Linked DNA regions of Homo sapiens: region 1 is linked to region 2. The links are contacts of gene promoters, found by promoter capture Hi-C in blood cells and fetal thymus (Javierre and others, 2016). All regions are on one chromosome and are shown on one strand. Each heading gives the region's core, a stretch centred on a gene start or on the middle of the fragment in contact. The rest is flanking DNA. Distances are from core to core; before and after follow the strand shown.

Evidence for each region. The method cuts DNA at HindIII sites, captures the fragments that hold promoters and counts their contacts. A CHiCAGO score of 5 or more calls a contact.
Region 1: a fragment that was not itself captured here is called in contact with the fragment with the promoter of IRF4 in region 2 in 1 of 17 cell types (activated CD4 T cells); the score reaches 12.5 in activated CD4 T cells.

The regions. Positions count from the first base shown.
Region 1 is chr6:443,351-449,694 of GRCh38, forward strand. No RefSeq gene overlaps it. Among named protein-coding and RNA genes, the nearest start is that of IRF4, 55 kb to the left of the region's middle. The HindIII fragment of the contact is 3,201 bases long and covers 2,479-5,679 here.
Region 2 is chr6:387,765-393,764 of GRCh38, forward strand. It overlaps IRF4 (interferon regulatory factor 4), which reads left to right and starts at 3,988. Exons shown (of 9, transcript NM_002460.4): 1 at 3,988-4,045; 2 at 5,334-5,604. The coding sequence starts at 5,389. RefSeq lists an enhancer at 1,958-2,007 and silencers at 3,675-4,064, 4,305-4,374, 4,655-4,704, 4,875-4,924, 5,035-5,144 and 3 more. The HindIII fragment of the contact is 5,232 bases long and covers 3,372-6,000 here.

The sequences.
Region 1 (6,344 bases), core at 2,829-5,328, 56 kb after region 2:
TTTTGGACTGTTTTTCACGTCTGCCTTCCCTGTTCTAAGAATGATAATAATGCAATAATCACTACTACTATTGCTACTACTTGAAAATGCCCTGGCTGCTTTGGAACTATCTAAATATCTCCCTTGAGCCTCAAAACAACTGTGTGGGGGTACGTGGGGGAAGATATTCATTAACTACAGGTGGGAAGCTATTGCCCAAACAAGAAGCCAAGACGAGCACCCAACTCCTCTGGTACTGTGTTCACTGGTCTTGTAAAACATTGTCAAGGTAATGACATCTGTGGTAAAATATCAAAGAACACAGCAAGGCTTTGAATAGGAAGAAGAAGCCCCAGGCACTCCTTCCCCAGAGCGGCACCTGGCTCCCTCCACCTGTGCGTCTGCAGGTGCTTCCACCCAGGACTGTGGACCCAGGACTGCCTCCACCCAGGACTCCACCCAAGACTGTGCGCCCTGTGCCCCGGGTTGCTGATTGTCTTACCTACTGACTTCCTCAGTGAGTGCGGGAGTTTGCCTTCGAGAGCCGTCTACCCTCCCACGCCCCGATGGTGACAGTGCTGTCCCCAGCTGTCCTGCTGGCTGTCCCTCCGTGGCATCCCCCCTTCCTTTCCCGCAGGCCCCCTCTCTCTTCCGCTTAGCCACAGGGTCACTCTCTGGGGCGAAACTGCAATACGCCTATGGTCGTCTGTGATCAAATTGCAGCTGATGATGTGGGCTTTGCTTGGCGACCATAACCGAGTCTTCTGCGCTTTGTCTGCCCTACAGGCTGAGAGCCAATGGGGAGGCCACGTCCCTGAAGCACCAGGAAACTCTTCCCCGCGGAGCCAAGGGGCGCTGGGTGGCCTTCCCTTCCTCGTACAGCTTTTTGCTTTTCCTAGAGTTTCTAACCCACTAACTGGGGGCCCAAAGTAAAGCAGAGAAGTGGGGAAAAGGAACCAAGGGAGGGAAGAAGAGCTCCAAAATGCTGTTCAAAAGCCAACACGGTGAAACCTCATCTCTACTAAAAATACAAAAATCGGCTGGATGTGGTGGCACATGCCTGTAGTCCCAGATACTCAGGGGGCTGAGGCAGGAGAATCGCTTGAACCTGGGAGGCGAAGGTTGCAGGGAGCAGAGATTGCACCACTGCACTCCAGCCTGGGCAACAAAGCGACGCTCCGTCTCAAGAAACAACAACAACAAAACAACAACAACAACAAAGAACATCTTCCCATTAGCACTGGAGCAGCCTCCTTGGAGCATAGAATGCGGTGCGGGCGGGCTCTGCACTATTCACCTTCCCCTGCACGCCCTTGTCTCCTGAGTGCCGTGGTGGGATCTTTGTGGCTTTGTTCCAAGTTGTGCCACTGATCGGCTGGGTGCCTGGGGCACCTCAGTTTTCATCATCTGTGAAGTGGGGGTGCAGCAGCACATGGCTCACAAAGCTGGGGTGGGCATCGCGTGAATTACACAGGTGGATGCGGACAGCAATGTGGGCCCCGGGTCCCAGCTTACTAAGGGGAGTCCCCTTGCAGCAGATGAGTCCTGAGGCCTTTCGTGCTTTTGTCCACTGGACAAGCCCTCCTCAGGGACCAAGGTGTGGCCCCGGGAGCAAGCCTGGCACCGAGGGGGCCCCTGCAGGGAGGGACAGCAGGCGTAGGGCCTTGAGGAGCTCCAGAGGACGCCGCACGGCAGGCTTTAGGCAAATGCGTGGTGAATGAATTTGATGACAGCTCAGCATGTACTGAATGGATGTTGAGTGTGTTTGAAATCAAAGACCAAACCACAACACTGGGGAGGAAGCGAGTGGATGGTGCCAGGGAGGGCAGGGCGTGGTGTGGAGGGAGAACGGCTGGGCCAGGCGAGGGGGACTCACAAACATGGGTTGTGCTGAGCTCTCAGAGCTGCTCTTGCTTTTCAGATGGCAACAGTGGTGGCATTTGCTTTTGTCTTCCTCCAGCCTTTAGGGGTTTGAAGTGATAGTTTAGGGGATTCATCAGGATGGCTGTAAACAAGCAGAGGGAGGCAGGGCACACCTCCAAGACATGCTCTCTGGCACTTCTGGTTTCCTGGGTTTTTAGCTTTGCTGTCATGCAGTGGAGTCTCTGGAACCAAAACAGGTAACAGGATTGAAGACTCTGCTTAGGGCCCTGGTTTGGGCCTTTCCAGAAACCATCATAGGAACTGTTCAAGAAATGGTTACCAGGGAAATGCAGGCACAGTGGCACTCAGGCCCCTGGAAAAATGGGTTGATTGCAACAGAAATATCTTTCTCGAAGTGCAGCCCTGTTATAGTCAGAGGTTCGGGTAGGAAAAAGCAGGGGCACTGGTGAGTCAGAGGCACGGAAGATGGATCCCAGAGTGGAGGAGCCCCCAGTGGGGCAGCTAGGGAATCTGGGAGGTGGGGGGACAGGGGGCGGTCACTCTGTCTCCGGCCCATGATGGGCTGTTTCTGTGAAGCTCTAGAGCCCATGACTCCAGGTCACCAGTGTCACAGGAAGCTTGGGGCCAGAGTGGGTCTCTGAGAGTCATGCTGAAAGCTAGATGTGGTCTTACTGTGTCCACTCCTCTAGGAGAAGACACTGCAATTTCCAAATGAAGCAATGCTCATCCTATGTGCTGGTGATGTGAAAATACTGGGGTCACTGTGGGCTTTCAGGAAGTGCCTAGGTGGGGCTGGAGGCTGTGGTGAACAGAAGGGGCGGGGTGGCCGGGCAGGAGGACTGAGGGACAAAGCTAGGAGAGGGAACTGGGCAGCCAGCCTGGTGGGGATCTCAGAGCTGCCACCCTGCCCAGCGTGGCACAGCCATCTCTGCCCTGAGCTCGGCTGCTTCTCCTGAGTCCAGCTGTGACCTAGCAGGAAGCCCCTCGGCTTGTCTGCTAGGGGTCCTGGCTCAGTGCTGAGTCACACTTTTTATGGAAATATCAGGTGCCTGTCCCTCACACTTCTTGTTGCTTCCTCAGGCCCAGGACCTGCCCACCTACCTGCATGCCCGCCTGGTGGACCTGTCCCTCCCCCAGCCCAACCTGGCTCCCTGGAAGGATGAGAAGCAGTAGGGGAGATGAGGCAAAAGCTGGGGCAGCCCCTGCAGGGGAAGTTGAGGCAGGGATCATCTATTCACACGCAAAAGGGATGCTGTACGGGGTGCTGGGGTCCCACATAGAGAAGTTCTAGCTGCAGTGCTGGGCAGCCCTGGAGCAGCAGAACTCAGCAGTGCAAGGCGGCTGCTCAGAGCGGCCACGATAAGAAGGCGCAGGTCTGTCCCCTCCCCCGGCGCCTGCTGCTCCCTGCCTCTGCCTCCCTGTCCAGCTTCTGCTCATGCTTCAGGGTCGCTGATGTGGATCCAAACAGCCACACAGAGGAGTCTCTTCAGTGGGGGGTGCTGGGGGGTGTCACTGGGAATGTGGACTGCAGGTGAGCACACCCCACTAACCTCATTTAACCTATTTAGTGTCTTATGCAATTTAAGAAAAACCAAAAACCAAACAACAACAGCAAAAAAACCCCACACCAACCCACAGTCTTTGAAAGGGTTGGGTTCCACCAGGAGACTCAGGCGTCTTAGTGGAAAGAATGATCTGGGCTCTGGCTGGGATGGCACAGGCAGCTGGGGGGCGGTGCCCGCCGCCGGGAGGCGTGGGCCTGACTCAGTGGAAGGAAGTGGTGTGTTTCCATTGCAGAGCTCAAAAACAAGGTGGTTTGAGGAACGCTTGTGTGTCACCGGCATTTCCCTGTTGTGTTTATGAAGTGAGGTGGGAATCAAGCTCTGGGGTTACTCTAATTGTGTCTTTTACAAGAAACCAAGAAGCCCCCATGGAACACAGGCAGGGGCTGAGGCGGCCGGGAGGGGCTGGGGAAACCCAGGCGCAAGCGCGCTGGGCTGGGAGGACGGGGCCGGCCACCTCACCCGGCTCTCCAGCACCCCATTTTAAGGATGGGACCACCCTCTGCCAGCCTGCCTCTTCCCAGCGCATGTCCTGACCTCCCCGAACTGCTTCCTTTTCTAGACGCTGTGTGGGTGCAAACAGCAGGTGCTCATGGATGGCACGGATGACAAACAGCAGGTGCTCATGGGTGGCACCGCATGTCCAGGCCAGGGAGAGGCTGCGGGGCTGGGAGGGCGGGGCTCATAAGATGGACGTGCACACAGCAGTCGGGTGAGCCTCCGGTGCCCCTGGAAGCCTGCTGACCACGCAGCGCGCAGCATTGCCCCTCCCTAGCTGAGGCCATGGGGGCGGGGGATGCGGGCTTTTACTGGCGTGGCAATTCTGTCTTCTGAGGTCACTCACAGTTTCCCCCTGGTGAGGCGAGCACTGTGCTGAGGAGCGTTCCACCATGCAGTACAGGAGAGCAGTGGTCTGCATGATGGATCCTGCACAATGAGAAAGCCAGGCAGCCTCCCGAAAGGAAGTGCCGGCGAGGGATCCAGATGCAAACAGCCCAGGCCGCAGGGCTGGTCCCTCTCTCCTCCACAGGAATTTCCAATGCAGGCCGCCCCACAGAGTAAGCATCCCTTGAAGTAATGTTTCAGGGGCTCATTTCTGTATTTAAGGGAGGGAGGGAGAACGAGCCAGAGGAAGGGCTGCACCGAGCGCCGCAGTGGAGAGGAAGCGGTGAGACCAACGTTCCACTCACCTGTCTGGGCTGCCATCGGACAGCAAAACAATGGGAGAAAAAATCCCCACGTTTTCACAAGGAGGTTTACTGGAAAATCATCTAATAAACAGGCTCGTAAGCACAAGCACAGCAATCTCGAAACCACCTTCTCATCATTCAGATGTTGCTTTCAGAATTGCCTCCTTCCTCCAGGCCACTGCCATGGAGGCCTGGCACTGAGTCCCCCCGGGAGGTCCTGTGGCTCCACTCGAGGCTGTGACATTATAATCTGTTATGGGCTGACTGTGTCCCCCTCCAAACTCATATGTTGAAGTCCTAACCCCCATGCTATGGTTTGAAGATTTGTCCCCACAAAACTCATGTTGAAAAGTAATCCTCAGTGTGGAAGTCTTGAGAGGTGGGGCCTTTAATAGATGGTTTATGCATTAATGGGCTAATGGATTTAATGGTTTATCATGCTATTGGGACTGGTGGCTTTATAGGAAGAGGAAGAGAGACGTGAGCCGGCATGCTCAGCATCCTCACCATGTGATGCCCTGCGCTGCCAGGACTCTGCAGAATCCCCACCAGCAAGAAGGCCCTCACCAGATGCAGCCCCACCCCGCGATCTTGGACTTCCCAGCCTCCATAACTTCAAGAAATAAATTCCTTTTCTTTATAGATTGCCCAGTTTCTGATATTCTGTTATAAGTGACAGAGAATGGATGAAGACGCTTCTTGTACCTCAAAGTGACTGCATTTAGAGACAGGGCCTTTAGAAAGAGAATTGAGTTAAAATGAGGTCTTCAGGGTGAGCCCTAAACTAACATGAGTGGTGCTCCTTTAAGAAGAGGAGAGAGCGCAGACACACAGAGGGAGGCCCCCGCGAGGCTACAGGGAGAAGACACCATCTGCAAACCAAGGAGAGGTCTCCAGAGAAGCCAGCCCTGCCACACGTGGCTCAAAGCCGTCTGCCCTCCAGGACTGTGAGAGAACAAACGTGTGTTGCTGAAGCCCGGAGTGCACGCCCAGCGCGTGGTGCTCGTTAAGGCAATCAGAGCAAAGTGACCCAGCACCCTTCTAGAGAAATGGTTTCATATCGAAGCTTGGAAGTCACCGAGCCCCCTGATTTTATAACTGAGGAAATGGAGGCACCCCGTGTTGGGTCCCACAGCTCACCAGCTCAGCCAGTGTTCCCTGAGCCTGGCGCTGGCGGGCCCTGGGCACCGCGATGGGTGGGGGCCGGGCCTGTCCTCTCGGGCTGTTTGGCTCAGGAGTCACACAGGCCCTAAGCATGGGGATGCGGTTCCAGGCGCCGGCAGGTGCCACAGAGGAATCCAGTGGGTGTGTGAGGACTTCTCACTGATCCCCAGAGGCAGGGAGGTGGCGGCTGGGACCCCAGGGAGCAAGGTGGAGCCCAGCAGAAGGGAGTACGAGGAATTTCCAAGTAAGGGACCACTGGCTCACCTGGAGGGAAAGGCAGGACCCAGAGCCCCAGGAGGCCGCTGCAGGCTCAGATGAGAACGGAGGGCTGCAGCCAGCACATTCTGGATGGACTTTAAGGTAGAGTTAATGAAGCTGGTCAATAGATTCGGTGTGGGGGCGAGAGGGAAAGACAAGAGGCAAGAAGGACCCCAAGAGTCCAGGGGAAGCTGAGGCTGGAGACGGGAAGCCTGGGCGTGGCCAGCGCGGACATGGCCCCAATCCCCTGGCCTGCCTGAGACCCTGTGATCGAGAACTGCTGCGATCCCAGGATGGGCTCTGGGGC
Region 2 (6,000 bases), core at 2,738-5,237:
GGAATGCTTACTGTCGAAGCTCTGCAAATTTTCTCATTGAAGGCACTCAGGGCATTCTGCTAATTAAATTAGGAAAATGTGTACAGCTCTACTTGAAAAAATCCAGGTTTATGCTCTGTATTCTATTACCAAAGAATTTATCACTTTTCAAATAACATTCAATTATTTTAAACTGAGTGTGCAGTGAGAGCATTTATAATATAATCTCATTTCCAGAGTGTTCCATCCCAACTCCTCTCTGGTATAAGTAGCTTAGAAGGTTAGATTTTTTTTTTCCAGAGGATTAAACATTCGAGAAGAGTGGCTAAGAGGCAGCACCAGGTTTCTCTCATTTCCTCAAAGAGAATTTAGCCTTGTGAAGAAGAATAAAGTGAAGGTCAATGGTTAGATCCATGGCTTAAAAATAAAATGCAGCTTTCCTTACTCTGAATTTACCATAACCAAAAAGGCCACGAGGCAGCCATTAATGATCCTAAGTTGCAACAGAAAGAAAAAAACACCTACTTAGGGTTAAACGAGGATTCAGTGGTCACTTGCCGCCGGCCTCCACTTCACAGGGGCGGAGGATGAGGCCAGGGAAGACTTTCTTACCCACACTGACCTGACCAGAGATGAAACTCCCCCTCCTATGACAGCCTGCACTCAGAGGCTGATTCTGAAATAGTCATGCCAAATGCAGCCAATCCCTGTGTACAAGGAGAAAAAATAGTTCCTCAGAGCTGTGTCCTTGGGCCAGCCATCTGGACCTCTCACAATCTCTTTCGTTCTCCCTACACTTGGGCTGAATCCCGCCTTCCTTGCCTGCCAGGTTTGGTTTGGGGGCCAAATGAGTGAAAGTCCGTGAGATACCCCTAAGTATTGAAGTGCGTAGTAAATGATAATAGCCCTGATTTGTTGAACATGATGATGTGCCAGGCATTGCGCAAAGCATCATTTCATCATCACAACAAACACTGCTGGGAGGCAGGGACACCCCCACCCTCCTTGTACACCCAGAAGTAGGACTTTGGTTAAATGGCTCTCCCAAGGCCTCACAGCCTTAAAAACTCAAGCACTTATTTAATCCCCAATGATACTACCTTTTGGCCATGCAATGTGTCATGGCCAGTAATTAGATTTGCAAACACATATAACCAAAGAGGATTAGAAGAGACATATATTCTATATAAATTACATGAAAATAGCACTTTCAGTATTTTCCTGATTTTTTCTGGTAATTAAAAATGATTGCCCTTTATATTTCTTTATGGATACAGTTGCATTGTTTTTAGCCAATTGTAGCCCCCCCCTTTAAAGAGTGAATTAGTGGGAAAATAGTGTTATCCAAGATTTTAAGAATCTAGTGTGTGTGTTTGTGTGTGTAGGATGGGTTTTTCTGAAATATTTTACTTGCATGTGAATGTATAATTTTAAAGATTGGCTTTTAAAATACTGAATTGAGGTAAATTCAGCTTTTCTTGCAGACTCTTTACGATAAATGTGAAATTGAAAATGGAAATGCTCCATTCAGATGGTGTGCCGACTACAACCTCAACATACGGATAATTCACTAAATAAGTAACTTCCTCGTGGAATATCACGGTCAGCCTTTGTTTTGGGTACACATTCAATGAACTGGTTTCCTATTAGTTTCTGCTTGTCAACAAGTTGTGTCATTTACTGATAAATATCCAGCCTTTTACTAAGGAATACCGATTTTCTCAAGTCTCAGTGTGTGGAGGGGGTGGGAGTTTGGTGGGGAAGCTTTTCAATTTGAGAACCTTTGCCGTTTTTTGTTTCAATCGTGACTAAGATATAAAAGTCCTTGGTCACCACTGCCAGCTGCTACCTGTTCACTGCCTCCCTGACGGGTAATGAGGCCATCCGGAGTTTTAGTGATTAAAATGTTTTATTACTTGTATTCACATCATCATTAAGAAAAATAACTTCTAGTGGATCAATATGGCAAATGAGTAAACCAGAAGATGGCGTTGAAGATTAGCAATTACATTTAAAAACAAGGTAGTGGTGTGAAGGCTCAGAGTTTCACACAACGACTGTTGTTCTGAACTAAAAGCAGAGGATGTGGATGAGTGAGGGGAGGGTATGTTGAAAATGACTAAACCCGGTGCAGAGGACACGTATACGAAAGTGCAAAAAGCTCTCATTTGCCATTTTTTGTCCTCAGCAAACTCCTCTCTGGTATGTTTGTGAACGTTTGAGGGAAAGGTAACACTGATTAAAATATAATGCAACAAGAAGGCAACGATCTTTGCTTTGTTCACTGATGTGTTCCAAGTGCCTAGGACGGTTCCTGACAAGTAGCAGGTGCTCAAAATACATTTGTCAAGTGAATAAATCTGTGAAAGGAAAGGAAGAAAAACAGGTTGTGACCAGAACTTTTTGTGAACAAAACCCTGTTGTTTATTACATAGACTTTGGTAATGGAAAACTTACTTGGGTGAAATAAAAAATGGCATCCTGTTAATTTCTGAGAACGTCTGTTGGTTTTAGGAAAAGCATACCTATCCATACCTCACTACCTGTTTTGCTCTAGCCTAAACATAGATTCTTCTTTGGTTAGGAGACATTGACCCAATATATAAGATTAAAACAAAAACTGAGAAATAAGTGAAATCAAAAGCTTTTCAAAAGTTGCAGGTTGACCTACGGTGGTGGTGGTCTAAAATCATATAGAAACCAGAGATCTGATGGTTTACCTGAAAATGCGAAGTAAATGCACATACTCAGCATCTCAGACGATCGAAAGCTCAACGGGTGAAAGCTCAGGGGGTTAATTTTGCGATTAAGGACATCTTGGAAAAGTATGTAAAATCCCTGGTCCACTTAAGTATTATTCCTATTTTGGGCTTTTATTTATTTATTTTGAGATGGAGTCTTGCTCTGTCGCCCACCTCGGCTCACTGCAACTTCAGCCTCCCGGGTTCAAGCGATTCTCGTGGCTCGTCCTCTCAAGTAGCTGGGGCCACGCCCGGCTAATTTTTGTATTTTTAGTAGAGATGGGGTTTCACCGTGTTGGCCAGGCTGGTCTCGAACTCCTGACCTCAGGCGATCCACCGCCTCGGCCTCCCAAAGTGCTGGGATTACAGGCTTGAGCCACAGCGCCTGGCCTATTTTGGGCTTTTATACCCCACTGGTAAACTGCTTTCCTCCAGGTTGAGGTTAAAACGACATCATTTTAAGGTGAACTGAAGTCTGGAAGTGATTAAGCACTTGGATCCTTAGGGAGCCTCTCCCCGCCCCCATCTCTTTCATGCTAAGATAATTAAAACTTCGGGGCCGGGGCATTGTCTGAGTCACTTCAATTCACCAGCCTAATAGATGCAAAAGGATGTAAGCATGTCAGACACGCAGAGACAGTATTTGAATCAAGCTTAATAGCTCAAGGGAGCTGGGCCATTTCCTATTTTCTTTTTAGTGAGTGCGATGTTCTCTAAACACCGCGGAGAGGCAGGGTTCCCGGTGATGGCCTTGCCGAGGGTGCTCCCGCAACCTCCACCTCCAGTTCTCTTTGGACCATTCCTCCGTCTTCCGTTACACGCTCTGCAAAGCGAAGTCCCCTTCGCACCAGATTCCCGCTACTACACGCCCCCCATTTCCCGCCCTGGCCACATCGCTGCAGTTTAGTGATTGACTGGCCTCCTGAGGTCCTGGCGCAAAGGCGAGATTCGCATTTCGCACCTCGCCCTTCGCGGGAAACGGCCCCAGTGACAGTCCCCGAAGCGGCGCGCGCCCGGCTGGAGGTGCGCTCTCCGGGCGCGGCGCGCGGAGGGTCGCCAAGGGCGCGGGAACCCCACCCCGGCCGCGGCAGCCCCCAGCCTTCACGCCGGCCCTGAGGCTCGCCCGCCCGGCCGGCCCCGGCTCTCGGCTTGCAAAGTCCCTCTCCCCAGTCCAACCCCCGGCCCCCACAGGCCTCGGCGCCCCGCCCCGCCCCAGGCCCCGCCCCAGAGAGTTCTATAAAGTTCCTCTTTCCCACCTCGCACTCTCAGTTTCACCGCTCGATCTTGGGACCCACCGCTGCCCTCAGCTCCGAGTCCAGGGCGAGGTAAGGGCTGGAGTCGGGCAGGAGGAGGGGTGTGAGGCTGATACCAGAGAGGACCCGGAGCGCGAACCAGAGGTTCGACCTCCAGGGCAGCGCAGGGTACCCCGGCTTCGGAGCGGGAAGGGAGCGCGCCCCGTCCTGGAGCTCCGACTCCCACCCCATCTGCGCTGAGCCGGAGGCGCTGGTTTGGGCTCCAAGGCCCGCCTCCTTGGCTCTGCCCGAGCCTCCCCGCCTGCCCTCCGCGCTCCTGCGACGGGGTCGCCACAAGCTGGACGGGATGAGCTAACCGGACTGTCGGGGCCCCAGGAGTGGCTGAGGCGGGGCCGTCCAAGGCACCCACACAAGACGGCACAACTGCCTGCGAGAAACAGGCCCGGCCCTGTGGACCCCAATCCGAGGCTCCTTCCCCTGCTCTTCGTTCCTAAGGGGCCCAAGCTCACGGCGGCCTCCGGCGCGGTGCTCACCCGCTGGCGCAGGAGGAGGAGGAGCTCCACATTTGGGTCGCTCCGAGCCTTGCGTGCGGTGGCCTAGCCGGCCTGGCGCGGTCCCTGCCTCCCAGGCTCCGCAGCTGTCGTCGCCCTCTCCCGCGCCCTCCCCGCCTCCGCTCTCCCGGGCCTGCTCCGGGGTCCGGCGGACGCTCTGCGCGCGGAATCCCCCGTACTGGGGCTGCAGCCCCCGCGTCTGCGCCACTTGTCGTTTGCAGAGCCCACTTAGTGCGCGCTAGCTGGGCAGGGATAGGGGTCCTATTCGGGGCGAAGGGTCTGGATGCGAGCAGAGAAAGCGGAGGGTGGAGGAACCCGGGGCTGCGCCCCTGGAACGCCCGGCCGCAGGCGAGGTCCTCCGCGCGTGGAGGCCGCCAGGGGAGTGGAAACTGACAGAGTCGCGGGGAAGGGGCGAGAAGCGGGTTGGGAGTGAGCGAAGGCAAGCGAGAGCTGCGAGTGAGTGCGGAAGGAGGGCCAGGAGGGGTGGCGGCTGGGTGGGGAGAGAGGGTGCAAGACGAGCGGCGCGTGTCGGGAGCCTTTGGGCTGCGGGTGCGTTACAGGAGAGCAGGCGGGTAGGAGCCTTCGCGGGGGCCGAGCTCGGAAGGCGGACGGCTGTGCCCGCCCAGGGGATGCGCCCGGGCCGGCCGCGAAGGTGCCTTCTTCCGGGGGCCCGGACGACCCTGACACGGCACGCGCGCGCTTCGCAGCCTCAAAGACTCCGGGGCCTCGTGGTCACTGGCGCAGGGGATCGGGGCGGGGTGCCCGGAGTGCGGTGCCTCGTGGCTGAAGGGCAGCTCTTCTCCCCGCAGTGCAGAGCAGAGCGGGCGGAGGACCCCGGGCGCGGGCGCGGACGGCACGCGGGGCATGAACCTGGAGGGCGGCGGCCGAGGCGGAGAGTTCGGCATGAGCGCGGTGAGCTGCGGCAACGGGAAGCTCCGCCAGTGGCTGATCGACCAGATCGACAGCGGCAAGTACCCCGGGCTGGTGTGGGAGAACGAGGAGAAGAGCATCTTCCGCATCCCCTGGAAGCACGCGGGCAAGCAGGACTACAACCGCGAGGAGGACGCCGCGCTCTTCAAGGTCTCCGGCCTCGGGAGCCGGCGGGGGCGCGCCGGGGAGGGCCCAGAGACAGAGCCCGGGGTCCCCGGCGCCGCCTCCGAGGCGAGCCCAGGGGACCGCGCGGGGCGGACGGGCGGGCGGCGGAGGCATCAGGTGGCGTCGCCGGAGCCGCAGGAGGAGGAAAGGAGGCCTCGGCTCTCAGCGGGACCGCGGGGGCCGGGAGCCGGGTCCTGGGCGCGTGGAGGCTGCAGGGAAACCGCTGAAGGCCCGGCCGGGCCCGGGGAAGGGCGGCCAAAGGCTTGAGGGGTTTTGCGCGTTCGTCCGTGCGTTCTCGTTTCCACGCAAGCCTCCCGCCCTTCCTCCGGGCTCCCGTCTGCCGCCTCCGTCCGTGGGTCCCCCTCGCCCTCTCCGTGCGTC